Regions from separate parts of the Homo sapiens genome. Here region 2 is linked to region 1. Evidence: promoter capture Hi-C in human tissues and cell types (Jung and others, 2019). All regions are on one chromosome and are shown on one strand. Each heading gives the region's core, a stretch centred on a gene start or on the middle of the fragment in contact. The rest is flanking DNA. Distances are from core to core; before and after follow the strand shown.

Evidence for each region. Contacts are between HindIII fragments. The study calls those that stand out against the background at their distance.
Region 2: a contact is called between the fragment with the promoter of MEX3D here and the fragment with the promoter of EFNA2 in region 1, in 3 of the 25 tissues and cell types used here (dorsolateral prefrontal cortex, lymphoblastoid cells and spleen).

The regions. Positions count from the first base shown.
Region 1 is chr19:1,284,111-1,289,852 of GRCh38, reverse strand. It overlaps EFNA2 (ephrin A2), which reads right to left and starts at 3,980. Exons shown (of 4, transcript NM_001405.4): 1 at 3,545-3,980. The coding sequence starts at 3,684. RefSeq lists enhancers at 1,304-1,890, 3,895-4,395, 4,396-4,896. The HindIII fragment of the contact is 32,397 bases long and covers 1-5,742 here.
Region 2 is chr19:1,564,144-1,569,851 of GRCh38, reverse strand. It overlaps MEX3D (mex-3 RNA binding family member D), which reads left to right and starts at 1,527. Exons shown (of 2, transcript NM_203304.4): 1 at 1,527-2,388. The coding sequence starts at 1,794. RefSeq lists silencers at 1,248-1,297, 1,338-1,527. The HindIII fragment of the contact is 18,806 bases long and covers 1-5,708 here.

The DNA of each region.
Region 1 (5,742 bases), core at 2,731-5,230:
AGAGGCCGAGGGACGCCAGCGGAGCCACGGGGAGCGAGACACCCCGTTCACCTCTGCCCTCTGCTGGGGGACGGCTCCTCCCTCGGGGAGTGAGCCCTTGCATAGGTCACCATTTTCCATCCAGTGTTTGAGGGGAACCCGGCTGCTGCCCACACCCGAGGGCCACTGGGTCCGTGGGGAACCCCGGGAGGGTGGCCGAAGCCCAGAGATGCCCAGTGTGGGCAAGCGCCCACCCAGTGCCCCCAAGGCTGCAGATTTCCAATCAGAAGGTGGGGACTCCCGGGGACCACAGGCCCCTGCGTCCACCCTGCTCTGAGGCTTGATGGCCGTCTGCACACGGGCCCTGGTCCCGTCCCCAGGGGAGGAGGAGAGGGAGGGCCAACAGCGGGGTTGCCATTGTGGACCGTGCTGGGGCCACCACTGCCCCCACATTGCAGGCCCTCAGCCAGCCAGCACTGCCCCCAGGGAGACACACTTACATGCACCCCACACGCAGACACGCACACACACCTGCACTCCACGCACAGACAAAACGCATGCATGCCACAGGCAGACACGCACAGGGACCTCGGACACTGCAGACATCCCGTGCAAGGGCACGCACATGCAAACGCGGGTGCCACGCACAGACACACTCATGCACACACATGCACCTCATATGCAATCACGCAGACACATGTGCAAACACGCCAGAGCTGTGCCCTGTGGATTCACGCAGCCTCCTGCCACACACAGACACATGTAACCTGCAGCCGGATGCGACTCCAGGCACACCTGCACGCCACCCTTCCCCACCGCTGCACGCAAACACACATGAGCAGCCGTGGGAATGCACACGCGGTGTTGTGGCCAGGACAGGTGAGGGCAGCCGGCCAGGTCCAACAGGACAGGTGAGGGCAGCCGGCCAGGTCCAAGCCCTGGACGCCCCAGCCCGATGCGGGTCGGCTGGGAACAGGCCCAGAGACTCCTGGCGGCCAGCTCAGGGGTACCCAGCCCAGGTTGGGGAGTGGGTTGGACGGACGCTGTGCAGTCACCGGTGGGAGTGGCGGGGCCGGCCAGCCAGACCACCCAACGGGGCCCCACCTTATAGCGGCCCAAGGAGGTGGGTGCGGGGTCCCCTGGGTGCAGGCATCGCCTCTCACAGCAGAGAGGGTGTGATGTGGAGACAGACCACACAGTCATCGCCTGGGCACAGGTGCCAGGCCAATGGGCGGAAGGGGCGGCCGGCGACGCTGCGGCACTGCCCGGGCCTGCAGGCCCCATCGAGCACACGGTCCCCTGGTGCCCACGCTGCTGTCTGCCCCCCATCGCGGCTGTCCCCGTCTCCAGTGCCTTTCTGTATGCCCCTCTCAAAGACTTGGGGTCCCCGCATCCCCCACACACCTGCCCGACCCCATCATCCCTCCCCGGCCAGCCCAGCCTCACACCTTAGGCCTGCCGGCTGACGCCACTCCTCTCCCCAAGCCGATGTCCCCTCCACAGGGTCCCCTTGGATACGGAGGCCCAGCACCACCCCCTGCTGTGCCTGACACCCCCGCCACTCAGGCACAGGTCCCGGGCAGGTGCCCCTGGACACCAAATCTGAGAACTGCAGAGACCCCTGATGTCCGCGACAAAGCCCTGATTCTGGCTGGATCCCGGCTTCCCGGGAAGGTGCTCACCCAGCCCTGGGCCCCACTGCAGGGTGTCGGCTCCGTCCCCAGCAACCCTGGATACCGCAGGCAGGAGAGGAAGGAGGAGGCAGCCTCGGTGCTGCCCAGGTCGGCTCTGCGGACCAGCAAGGCCGTTCCCTCAGGCAGCGGTTTGAGCTGGGCAACCAGGTCAGACCCGGAGCAACAGGAGGTGGCTGGGCCAAGCCAGGCACTGGGGAGGCCACTTCCTTCCCCTGGCCGGGGGTCCGGCCCGCAGCCCACAGCCCTGTGGCAGGTGGGGCAGCAGGACGGCCCTGGTGACCACCTTCCTCCCCCGGTTGCCGGGTCCTCGTGTGTTTGGCGTTTGCTAGAACAAAGGACAGGCCACGCTGGGGACGGGAGATTCCGCAGCTGAAACCAAAAACTTGGGCCGGGGAAGCGCTGCCCGCTGGACTCCCCGCACGGCCAGCGACAGCCTTAATCAAACCCACATGTGACCAGCACAGCGGGCGGCTCGGGGACCCGCTCTGAGGTGGGCCAGCCGTCCCCCAGCGGCCCGGGGTCCCTGCCCTCAGCCCCCAGGGCCCGACCCGAGGCCGTTGACCAGGGTGGGGGGTGGGCCTGTGCGTGTTCCCCACCCCCACGGCGGAACACGGGCCGCCCTTGTCCCCGAGCCCGCCTCAAAGAGACCCCTTCATGCAACTTTCCTCCCGGGGACCGAGGACAGCAGGAGACAGAGGGGACAAGGAGGGGTGGCGGGCTCCAGAGGGCGGCTCGGTCGGCACAGGAAGCGGCTGGAAAACGGAGAGAAAGTGACCAGTAGCAGAAGAGTGGGGGGGGGCCGCCTCAGCCCCCGATGTGCAGCTCCGTGTGCCTTAGGAAGACGGTGACACCCTGAGTGCTGGGGCTGACTCCCTCCCGAGCCCCAGGACCCCCAAAGCCCCGGCTCCCACGGGACCCCCAGGGAAGCTGCAGCCTGCTCCTGTCTTGGAGACCCTGGGATGGTTCAGAGGGTTCTACCCACGTCCAGGCCATGGCCAGGCCCCGGCAAACTTTTTTTGCTCTGACCAACGGGGGCTTCTCCTGTCCCCCACGTTGTGCCTGGCCCGGACCTGGTTCAAAACAAGGGGGCCTGCAGCAGGCGGGTGCGGCATCTCGGCCGGGCGTGGCAGGCAGGGCACTGGGCCACCTGGGTCCTGCCCCCAAGTCCCCCCCTTGCATGACCTTGAGCCAGCTCCTCATCCCCTCTGCACCTCAGTTTCCTGGTCAGCGCCCAGAGGACAAGAGAGGACTCCATCCCACTGCCCCTCCCGGGGCTGACCCCCAGCTCCCCGGCCCCTCAGTCTCCTTTCAAAGCTGGGCCCTTGGCCCCCTGGAGTGAAGCAGATGCTGGGTCCTGAGGGAGGGACACTCCAACTTCCCCAAGTTCATCTGGGGACCTGCGGGCAGGACGAACCCAGAGATCCCTCGAGGGCCACAGTCCCCCACCTCCGGTGCCAAGGTCCCCGGGGATCCCCACCAAATGCGAAACCGAGGGGGCTCCCCAGAGAAGCGGGTGGATCAGGGGTCCCCCCAAGTCCAGGCAGGCAACTCAGGGGCTACCCGGCATCGGAGGGTACCAGAGGGGTTCCCCAAACTCCAGGAGACGTCGGCGCTCTGGGGGATGTGGGGCGCGAGTCCCCACAGTCCGTAGGGCAATGGGGCGCCCCGGGGAAGGCAGGCGCGAAAAGGGCGAGTCCCCCAAACTCCGGGGGGCCGGAGCTCCCTGGGGGGCTCCCGCGGGAACCGGGCGCCCGCATCCCGGCGGCGGCGCGCGCGTGGGGGGCGCCCGGAGCTCCGGGGGCGCGAGGCCGGGCGCGGCTTGGGGGGCGTTGGGGGGTCCCCGGGCGCCCCCCGCGCGCGGCCGCGCTCACCTGGGGTTGCTGCGGTTCCAGTAGACGGCGTAGCGGTCCGAGTTGGCGCGGGCGGCGTCCTCGGCGCGCGCGAAGGGCGGCGGCGGCAGCGGTAACAGCAGGAGCAGCAGCGGGAGCAGCGGGCGCTGCGCGGGCGCCATGGCCCCGGTCCGGCCGCCGCGCTCGCTCTCCCGGCCGCCGCCTGCCAGCCTTCTCCGCCTCCTCCGCCGCCGCCGCCGCCGCCGAGCGGGCGGGCGGAGGGCGGGCGGGAGGAGGGCGCGGCGGCGCTTGGAGATCCCGGGCCGCCCCCGCCTCCGCGCGCGCGACCTCGGGCGCCGAGAAGTCAGGCGGCGGCGGGGCGGGGCGCCGGGGTCGCCCCGGGCGCAGGACCCGGCCGCGCGGACTGTCGGAGCGCGGGCCGCCGCCGCCGCACCCGCCGGGGAGGGGCCCGGGCTCCGGCCTTTGTCCCGCCCGAGCGTCGGGAGGGCCGCGGGCGCCCCCTCCCGCCGTGCCCCGGCCGCGCGGGGACTGGGCGGGGGTCTCCAGCCTGCGCCCGCCCCCTGCCCCGGCCCACCCCGTCTCAGGCTCGTCCCCCGGGGCCTGCCCCCAGCGACCCCGATTCTGCGCGCCCCCCGCCGGCATCCGCGTGGCCCGGCCTGGGGTCTCCGAGGGGCGGGGGCGCACCCTGCCTCCCGCGCCCCCACGCGCTCCACCCGGCCCGGCCCTGGGTCCCGGGCCTCTCACCTGCCCGGTTCCAGCGCTATCCGCAGCCTCACCAACCCCGACGCACGCGTCCCAAATCGGGCTCGGCCAACTCCAGTCTCCCTGCGGGGGCCGGGGCAGAGTTTCAGAGGGGCGCTGGCCAAAGTCCAAAGCTGCTCGGGCTGCGACCTCCCTGGGGCCCTCCTGGGAGTCGCCTCTCCGGACCCACGCTGTTCCCTGGGGATGGAGTAAGTCCCTACACCTCAGCCCTAAGGGTGCCGGGAGCATAGTAGGTGGACCGATGTGGAGTGTGAGCAGCTGGGGATGGGATCCAAGAAGCCCAGAGTGAAGCCCCGGCCGACAGCAAATCAGTCTCCACGCACGAATCCTGCAGGCAGGGGAGGGCCGCTGCCCGGGGGCACAGCTTGTGCAAAGACCCGGGGTCTGATCTGTTCAGGGAACGCCGAGTGATTTCTCCTCCTGGTAGGCTGACACAGGTGGGGAACTGGGGGCCTGGCCTCTGCTTTGTCTTTTTTCCAATCTATAGAGACAGTGTCTGGCCATGTTGGCCACGCTGGTCTTGAACTCCTGGGCTCAGGCGATCTTCCCACCTGGGCTTCCCAAAGTGCTAGGATTACAGGCGTGAGCCACTGCACCTGGCCTGCCCTCTGTTTTTGCCCTTATTCATGCCACAGCCTCCCTCACCAGACTCTGAGCTTGTGGAGGGTAGGCTGTCATCAAACGCTGGCTGGACTTTGCTGGCGATGCCCAGATCGTGTTGTACGTCTCTGAATTAGTGTCATTCACCAGGCCCAGTGCAGGAGAGGGAACTGCAGGGCAAGCACCAACAGCCCTTGGACCCGAAGGTCCCTGTGTGAGGCATTACCCAAACTCCTGGCAGGGACCGTGAACCCAGAGATGGGCAAGCTAACCTGTGCCCCAGCAAGGTGGGGTGGGGACCGGACCCACCACCGTCCCACAGCTCTGAGACGTGGTGGGCTCTGTCCTGTGTCTCCTGCGTGCCCTCCTCCCCCGATTCCCCAGCGGGCCACGCGGGCCACACCACCTGACCTTTGTTCAGGCTGGGTCCTGCTGGGAAGTCCTTCCACTTTTTCTTCCTGTTAAAATCTTGCTCTTCCAGAAAGGTCTGTCCCACCCAGTGCTCTAGCGTCCCTGCCAGGACAAGGTTCTCAGTTCTCTCTCCTCCAGGGAGCTCAGCCCGTCTGTTCTGAGCTCCAGGTCTCATCCCCTGACCCCACTACAGACGTCCCAGGTCGAAGGCCCAGGGCTGGCCGGGTGTCTCTTCAGTGGAGGGCGTGAACCTGTCCCAGGTGGTGGCTGAGGCAGGCCCTCTGGACAGGCTCTCTCAGCACCCCTGGAGTGAGGGCCTTGGGTTCTAGCCACACAAGGCTCTGTAGCCCAGACAGGCTGGAGAAGCTTCCCGGGCGGCTCCGTCTGGTGGGGGGCTCTTTTAGGGAGGGGGACGGCCACTCCCGGAGGTGAGCACTTTCGGAGCA
Region 2 (5,708 bases), core at 278-2,777, 280 kb before region 1:
GCCACCAAAAGTGAAGGGCCCAGCAGTGGGTGGCTGTGGCTGAGGGACTAGAAGAGTGGCTGAGGGGGACCCAGGGTGTGTGAGGCGGGGGGAGGGGACAGAGGAGAAGCCTTGCTAGGCAAAGGGGCAGGCTGCCCCACTCCTGCCCAGAGAGCCCTGCCTTCGGTCCAAGTTTGCACAGCCAGCCAGGGACAGGTCTGGTAGAAGAGGGGGGCAGGTAGACCCAGCCAGACAGGTTTATCACAAAAAACCCCACAGGTGCAAGGAAGGCCCCGAAGGACAGCTGGAGGAAGAGCCGCTGGGAAAGCGGCTATTTTTTTTTTTTTTTTTTTTTTTTGAGAGGAGTCTTGCTCTGTCAACCAGGCTGGAGTGCAGTGGTGCAATCTCGACTCACTGCAACCACCACCTCCAGGGTTCAAGCAATTATCCTGCCTCAGCTTCCTGAGTAGCTGGGATTACAGGTGCGCGCCACCACGCCTGGCTAATTTTTGTATTTTTAGTAGAGTCGGGGGTTTCACCATGTTGGCCAGGCTGGTCTCTAACTCCTGACCTCGTGATCCACCCGCCTCGGCCTCCCAAACTGCTGGGATGACAGGCATGAGCCACCGCGCCCGGCAAGGGTGGCTTTAGAGGTGGACAACGCCCGTTGCGGGGAAAGGCACCCCAGAAGAGGGTGGGGCTCCACATGGAGGGTTCTGGCTGGTGTGAGCCTGCCCTCGCCATGGAAGCACCACTGTGGTAGAGAGGTCTCTGGCTGGGGGCACAGAGACCGGGTCTGTGGCCTTGGGTGGGGCGGAGGAGGTGGCGTGGAGGAGGTGGCCTGATCCCAAAGCCGGGAGCCAGCCAGAGGGGAGCTAGGAGAGACTAGGGGAGAGGGACCTCAGGCCCTGGGGTGTGCATGATTGTGGAGCTGTCCCTGGCACAGAGGCTGGGGGTGGGGCAGGGGCCTGACCCTAAAGCCCACCTGATAGCAAGGGGTACTTGGGGACTGGGACCCCAGGCCCTGGGGGGTGCACCGTGGGGCGGGGGTTGGACCCTGGCACAGAGGCGGTGGGCGGGCAGGAGCCTGACTTCGAAGTCCAGTGGGATCGCGAGGGGGACTTGGAGAGGACCCCACGCCTTTATGCAGGGAGGTGGGGGTCCCTGGCACAAGGAAGCGGGCGTGGAGCAAGAGACCTCGCTTGGGGGCGACCCGGATCTCTAGGGGAAATTGGGGAGCGGGACCTCGGGCCCTGGGGCGCGCGAGGCAGGGACTCTCAGGCTTGGGGAGGGAGCGCTGTCCAGGCAGGGGCTGAGCCGCACACACCTGCAGCAGCGCCCGCACGTGCGGATGCGCCCGGGTTCCCGCCCGAGCGCCGGGCGGAGGCGGGGCCTGGACCACGTGCCCGGCGCCGGCCCCGCCCCGGCCCCGCCCCGCGCGCCTGCGCCCTGGGGGCCGCCCATTGTTGGGCCGCGGCGTGACGTCGCGGGGGCGGGGCCGGGGCGGGGCCGCGGGAGGCGGCGGGAGGGAAGGAGCGTCCCGCGCCGCCGCCGCCGCCTCGGCCGCCGAGGAGCCGCCGCCGCCGTCGCCGCCGCCGCCGAGCCGCAGCCAGAGTCGCTGCCGCCGCCCGGCCCGGCCCGGCCCGGCCCCGAGCAGCCCCGCGCCGCCGCCGCCCCGCCCGCCCGGCCCCCCGTGCCCGCCCCCGCCGCTGGATGCAGGCGGCCGGCGGCCCAGCTCGCAGAGGCGGAGGGCGGCGCGGGCGGCGGCGGCGGCGCGGGCGGCAGGAGCGCGGGCCCCAGCGCTAGCTCCCGCCATGCCCAGCTCGCTCGGCCAGCCCGACGGCGGCGGGGGCGGGGGCGGCGGCGGCGGCGGCGTGGGGGCGGCGGGGGAGGACCCCGGACCCGGACCTGCGCCCCCGCCCGAGGGCGCCCAGGAGGCCGCGCCCGCGCCCCGGCCGCCGCCCGAACCCGACGACGCGGCCGCCGCGCTCCGCCTGGCGCTGGACCAGCTGTCGGCGCTCGGGCTGGGGGGCGCTGGCGACACGGACGAGGAGGGGGCGGCCGGGGACGGCGCAGCGGCGGCGGGGGGCGCGGACGGCGGGGCGGCTCCGGAGCCTGTGCCCCCCGACGGACCTGAGGCCGGCGCGCCCCCGACCCTGGCCCCCGCCGTGGCCCCCGGGTCGCTGCCGCTGCTGGACCCCAACGCGAGTCCCCCGCCGCCGCCGCCGCCCCGGCCGTCGCCCCCCGACGTGTTCGCGGGCTTCGCGCCCCACCCCGCGGCCCTGGGGCCCCCGACGCTGCTGGCCGACCAGATGAGCGTGATCGGCAGCCGCAAGAAAAGCGTCAACATGACCGAGTGCGTCCCGGTGCCCAGCTCCGAGCACGTCGCCGAGATCGTGGGTCGCCAGGGTGAGTGGCCCTCGTCGGGGGTTGCTGTCCTGGGGGTCCCCGCACCGTCCGCCCCGGGGAAGGGGGTCGCCCGAGCCCAGCCCAGCCCGCGCCGGACGCCCCGCACCGGACACGCCCCGCGTGGGCTCCGGCCTCGGCCGCTGCCTTTGCGCCTTTGTCCTGCAGCCGCCGCGGGAGAAAGTTGGGCGCAGCCCGCGCTCCTCCCCTGCGCGCTCCGGCCCCGCCGCCGCCTTTGTCTGGGCCGCCTCCAGCCCGGAAAGGCTCCGGGGAGCCGCGCCGCAGCCCAGGCCCTCGGCCGCCCGCAGGGGCACCCCAGAGAGGGGCTCGAGGGCCCGGGGCTCCGGCCGGGCGGGGGGCGCCCCACACCCAGCACAGGCGGCGGGGCGGGGCAAGCGCAGGTTTAGGGGTGGCTTAGGGGGGCCGCCTGCAGGACCGGGAGAGAAGGCTGACAGTACAAAGAGCGCACGTCTCAGTCTCCAGCCTGGGGCCCTGACTGGGGTGGGGACGGGACCGGGCAGGAGAGGGTCCCTGCTCCACTCTCTGGCCCCGAGTCAGGGATTTCGGGGCCTGGGGAAGGACCGGCTGTCAAAGCCACTTCTGGGGTGCAGCCTGCTGGGCAGGCCGGCGGGCGGCAGGCCCCGGGTGTGGGGTCCAGCGGTGGCATCGTCGGAGCTTCCCTCTGGCCGCCCCATTGTTCTCTTTGTTAGAGAGCGAGGCTGAGATTTGCAGGGTGACATCAGGCCGGCCGCTGCTCATTGGCCCCCGAGCTGCGGGGCGGGCGGGCGGGTGGTGGGCAGTGCCTGGCCCAGCTCACACCCACCACCCCGTTAGCCACCCGCCCGCCTGCCTCCCTCAACTTTCTCCTGCCTTCCCGCCACCCCTCCCCGCTCCTGGGTCCCCGCTGACCGCCAGTGATCAGCCAGGTTCTAGAACTTGGGGTGGGGCCTTGGCGGGGCTGGTGGTGGGGCCGCAGGACACTTGGGCTGGGGGTCCCTGCCTCCCCGGGGCCCTCGGGAATCCAGGCCAGAGAAAGGTGTGGGGGGCTGGGATTGCAAGGTCATCTATGGCCCTGGCCTCAGGCGGGGGACCACCAGGGCGCCCTCCCCTCCGCCCTTTCCCTCGGTCCAGGTGGGTGGGGCACCACAGCCTCCTGTCTTTTGGTCGTTCATTTGTCCAGCTCATGTGGGGACCCACGGAGGGTCAGGCATGGTGCTGGCCCCAGGAAGCATGCTCTGGAGTGGTGGGTGGGGAGGGACTGGGTTCTGTCTCAGTCCTGCTGGCTGCCCTTGGTGGGACCCCCTGGCAGGAGGGCGCCCTACCATCCTGTTACTGCCTCCCCATTGAGGCCTTCCACCCGGCCTCCATGTCCCATACCCAGGGCCTAGAACGGGACAGCTGCCCTGTGCGGAGTGTCTGGGAGCCTGTGGAGACAGGCGTCCAAGCCGAGGCCTGGGGACCAAGTGACCAAAGGCACGAGCCTGAGCCTCCAGGTGGTGGAGGCTGTGGCTGTGTTCTTTGTGAACGCGCTTGTCCTGGCACCCAAGGGCCTTTGAGCGAGGCTATGGCCACATGGGGAGCTGGCAGGAATCAGCGTCAGGCTGAGAGCTTCTAGACCTGTGGCCTCAGGGTGGGAATTCTCTAGGGGCAGGTCCATGGGAAATGGAGTCTGTGGGCACCAGGCTCAGCCCCCACCTCTGGCCTGTGCGTTCTGCACCCACTTACTGGGCTCTTGCTGGTGGCCGTCAGCAAGGCAGGCCCTGGGGTACAGTGGGGGTCGGGGGTAGAGTGGGCCCTGATTGCTTGTCCTGCAGGCCGCCGTGGCCCTGCGCAGATGACGGCCCCTCTCTGTGATGTGCGGACGTCTCACCTCCATTAGGGTAGAGGATTCTGGGGCAAGATGCTGGTTTTATTTATTTATTTATGAGACGGAGTTTCGCTCTGTCGCCCAGGCTGGAGTGCAGTGACGTGATCTGGGCTCACTGCAAACTCCGCCTTCTGGTTTCAAGCAGTTCTCCTGCCTCAGCCTCCTGAGTAGCTGGGATTACAAGTGTGAGCCACCACGCTCAGCTGATTTTTGTATTTTTAGTAGAGACGGGGTTTCACCATGTTGTCCAGGCTGGTCTCGAACTCCCGACCTCAAGTGATCCGCCCACCTCCACCTCCCAAAGTGCTGAGATTACAGGCGTGAGCCACTGCGCACGGCCAGTTTTATTTATTTGTTTTTATTATAAAGTTTTTCTTGTAGAGACAGGGTCTTGCTCTGTTGCTCAGGCTGGTCTTGAACTCCTGGCCTCAAGCGATCCTCAGCCACCCAAAGTGCTGGGGTTCCTACAGGTGTGAGCCACTATGCCTGGACCCAAGTTGCTGGTTTTAATCCCAGCTCCAGGTCACACACAGTGGCCACCCCATAAGTGGAGTGCGCGTTGCCAGGGATGCAACTGTGGATGCCAGGACAGGTTGGCAGCTTCAGTAGTCCTTACGTCTTCCACAGCTTCGGTAGTCTGTACTTCTTCCACACTGTAGAACCATCTGTGGCTCCCAGCTTCTCCCACCCACCCCGTTCTCAAGCATACCTTTCAATGTCCTTTGTGCCCCGGCCCTGCCCCTTTACTCACCTTCCTCTCCACCCTGGGGCTCTCTGAACTTCTCATGCTTCTCTGTCAAACCCAAGCTCCAAGGTTACCCCTTCCCTGGAGGCCAGGAAGGGTGCACCTGTCCGGCCTCCCCACCTAGACAAGAGTCACACAGGCCTGGCACCAGCCCTCTCCCCAGTAGCTACGTGCTGTTCTCTGAGCTTCAGTTCTCTTGATCCTAGAGGGGGTCCGAGTGCTTTCTGGGCAGACTGTGGTCATTCAAACCCTCTGAGTTCCCACCCATCTGCTGGAGGCTCCAGTTCATTCATTTGCTATATCTTTTTTTTTTTTTTTTTTTGGGATGGAGTCTCGCTCTGTTGCCCAGGCTGGAGTGCAATGGCACGATCCCGGTTCACTGCAAGCTCCACCTCCCAGGTTCAAGCGATCCTCCTGCCTCAGCCCCCCTAGTATGTGGGATTACAGGCACGTGCCACTATGCCCAGCTGGTTTTTGTATTTTCAGTAGAGACGGGGTTTCGCCATGTTGGCCAGGCTGGTCTCACACTCCTGACCTCAGGTGATCCACCCACCTCAGCCTCCCAGAGTGCTGGGACTACAGGTGTGAGCCACTGCGCCTGGCCATTGGCTAGATCTTTATTGAGGGTCTACTGTGTGCTAAGCCTATGCCAGACTTGACCTGCCCCATCTCACTGAGGCCCATAATGTGCCCCAGGAAAGGTCCTGCAGC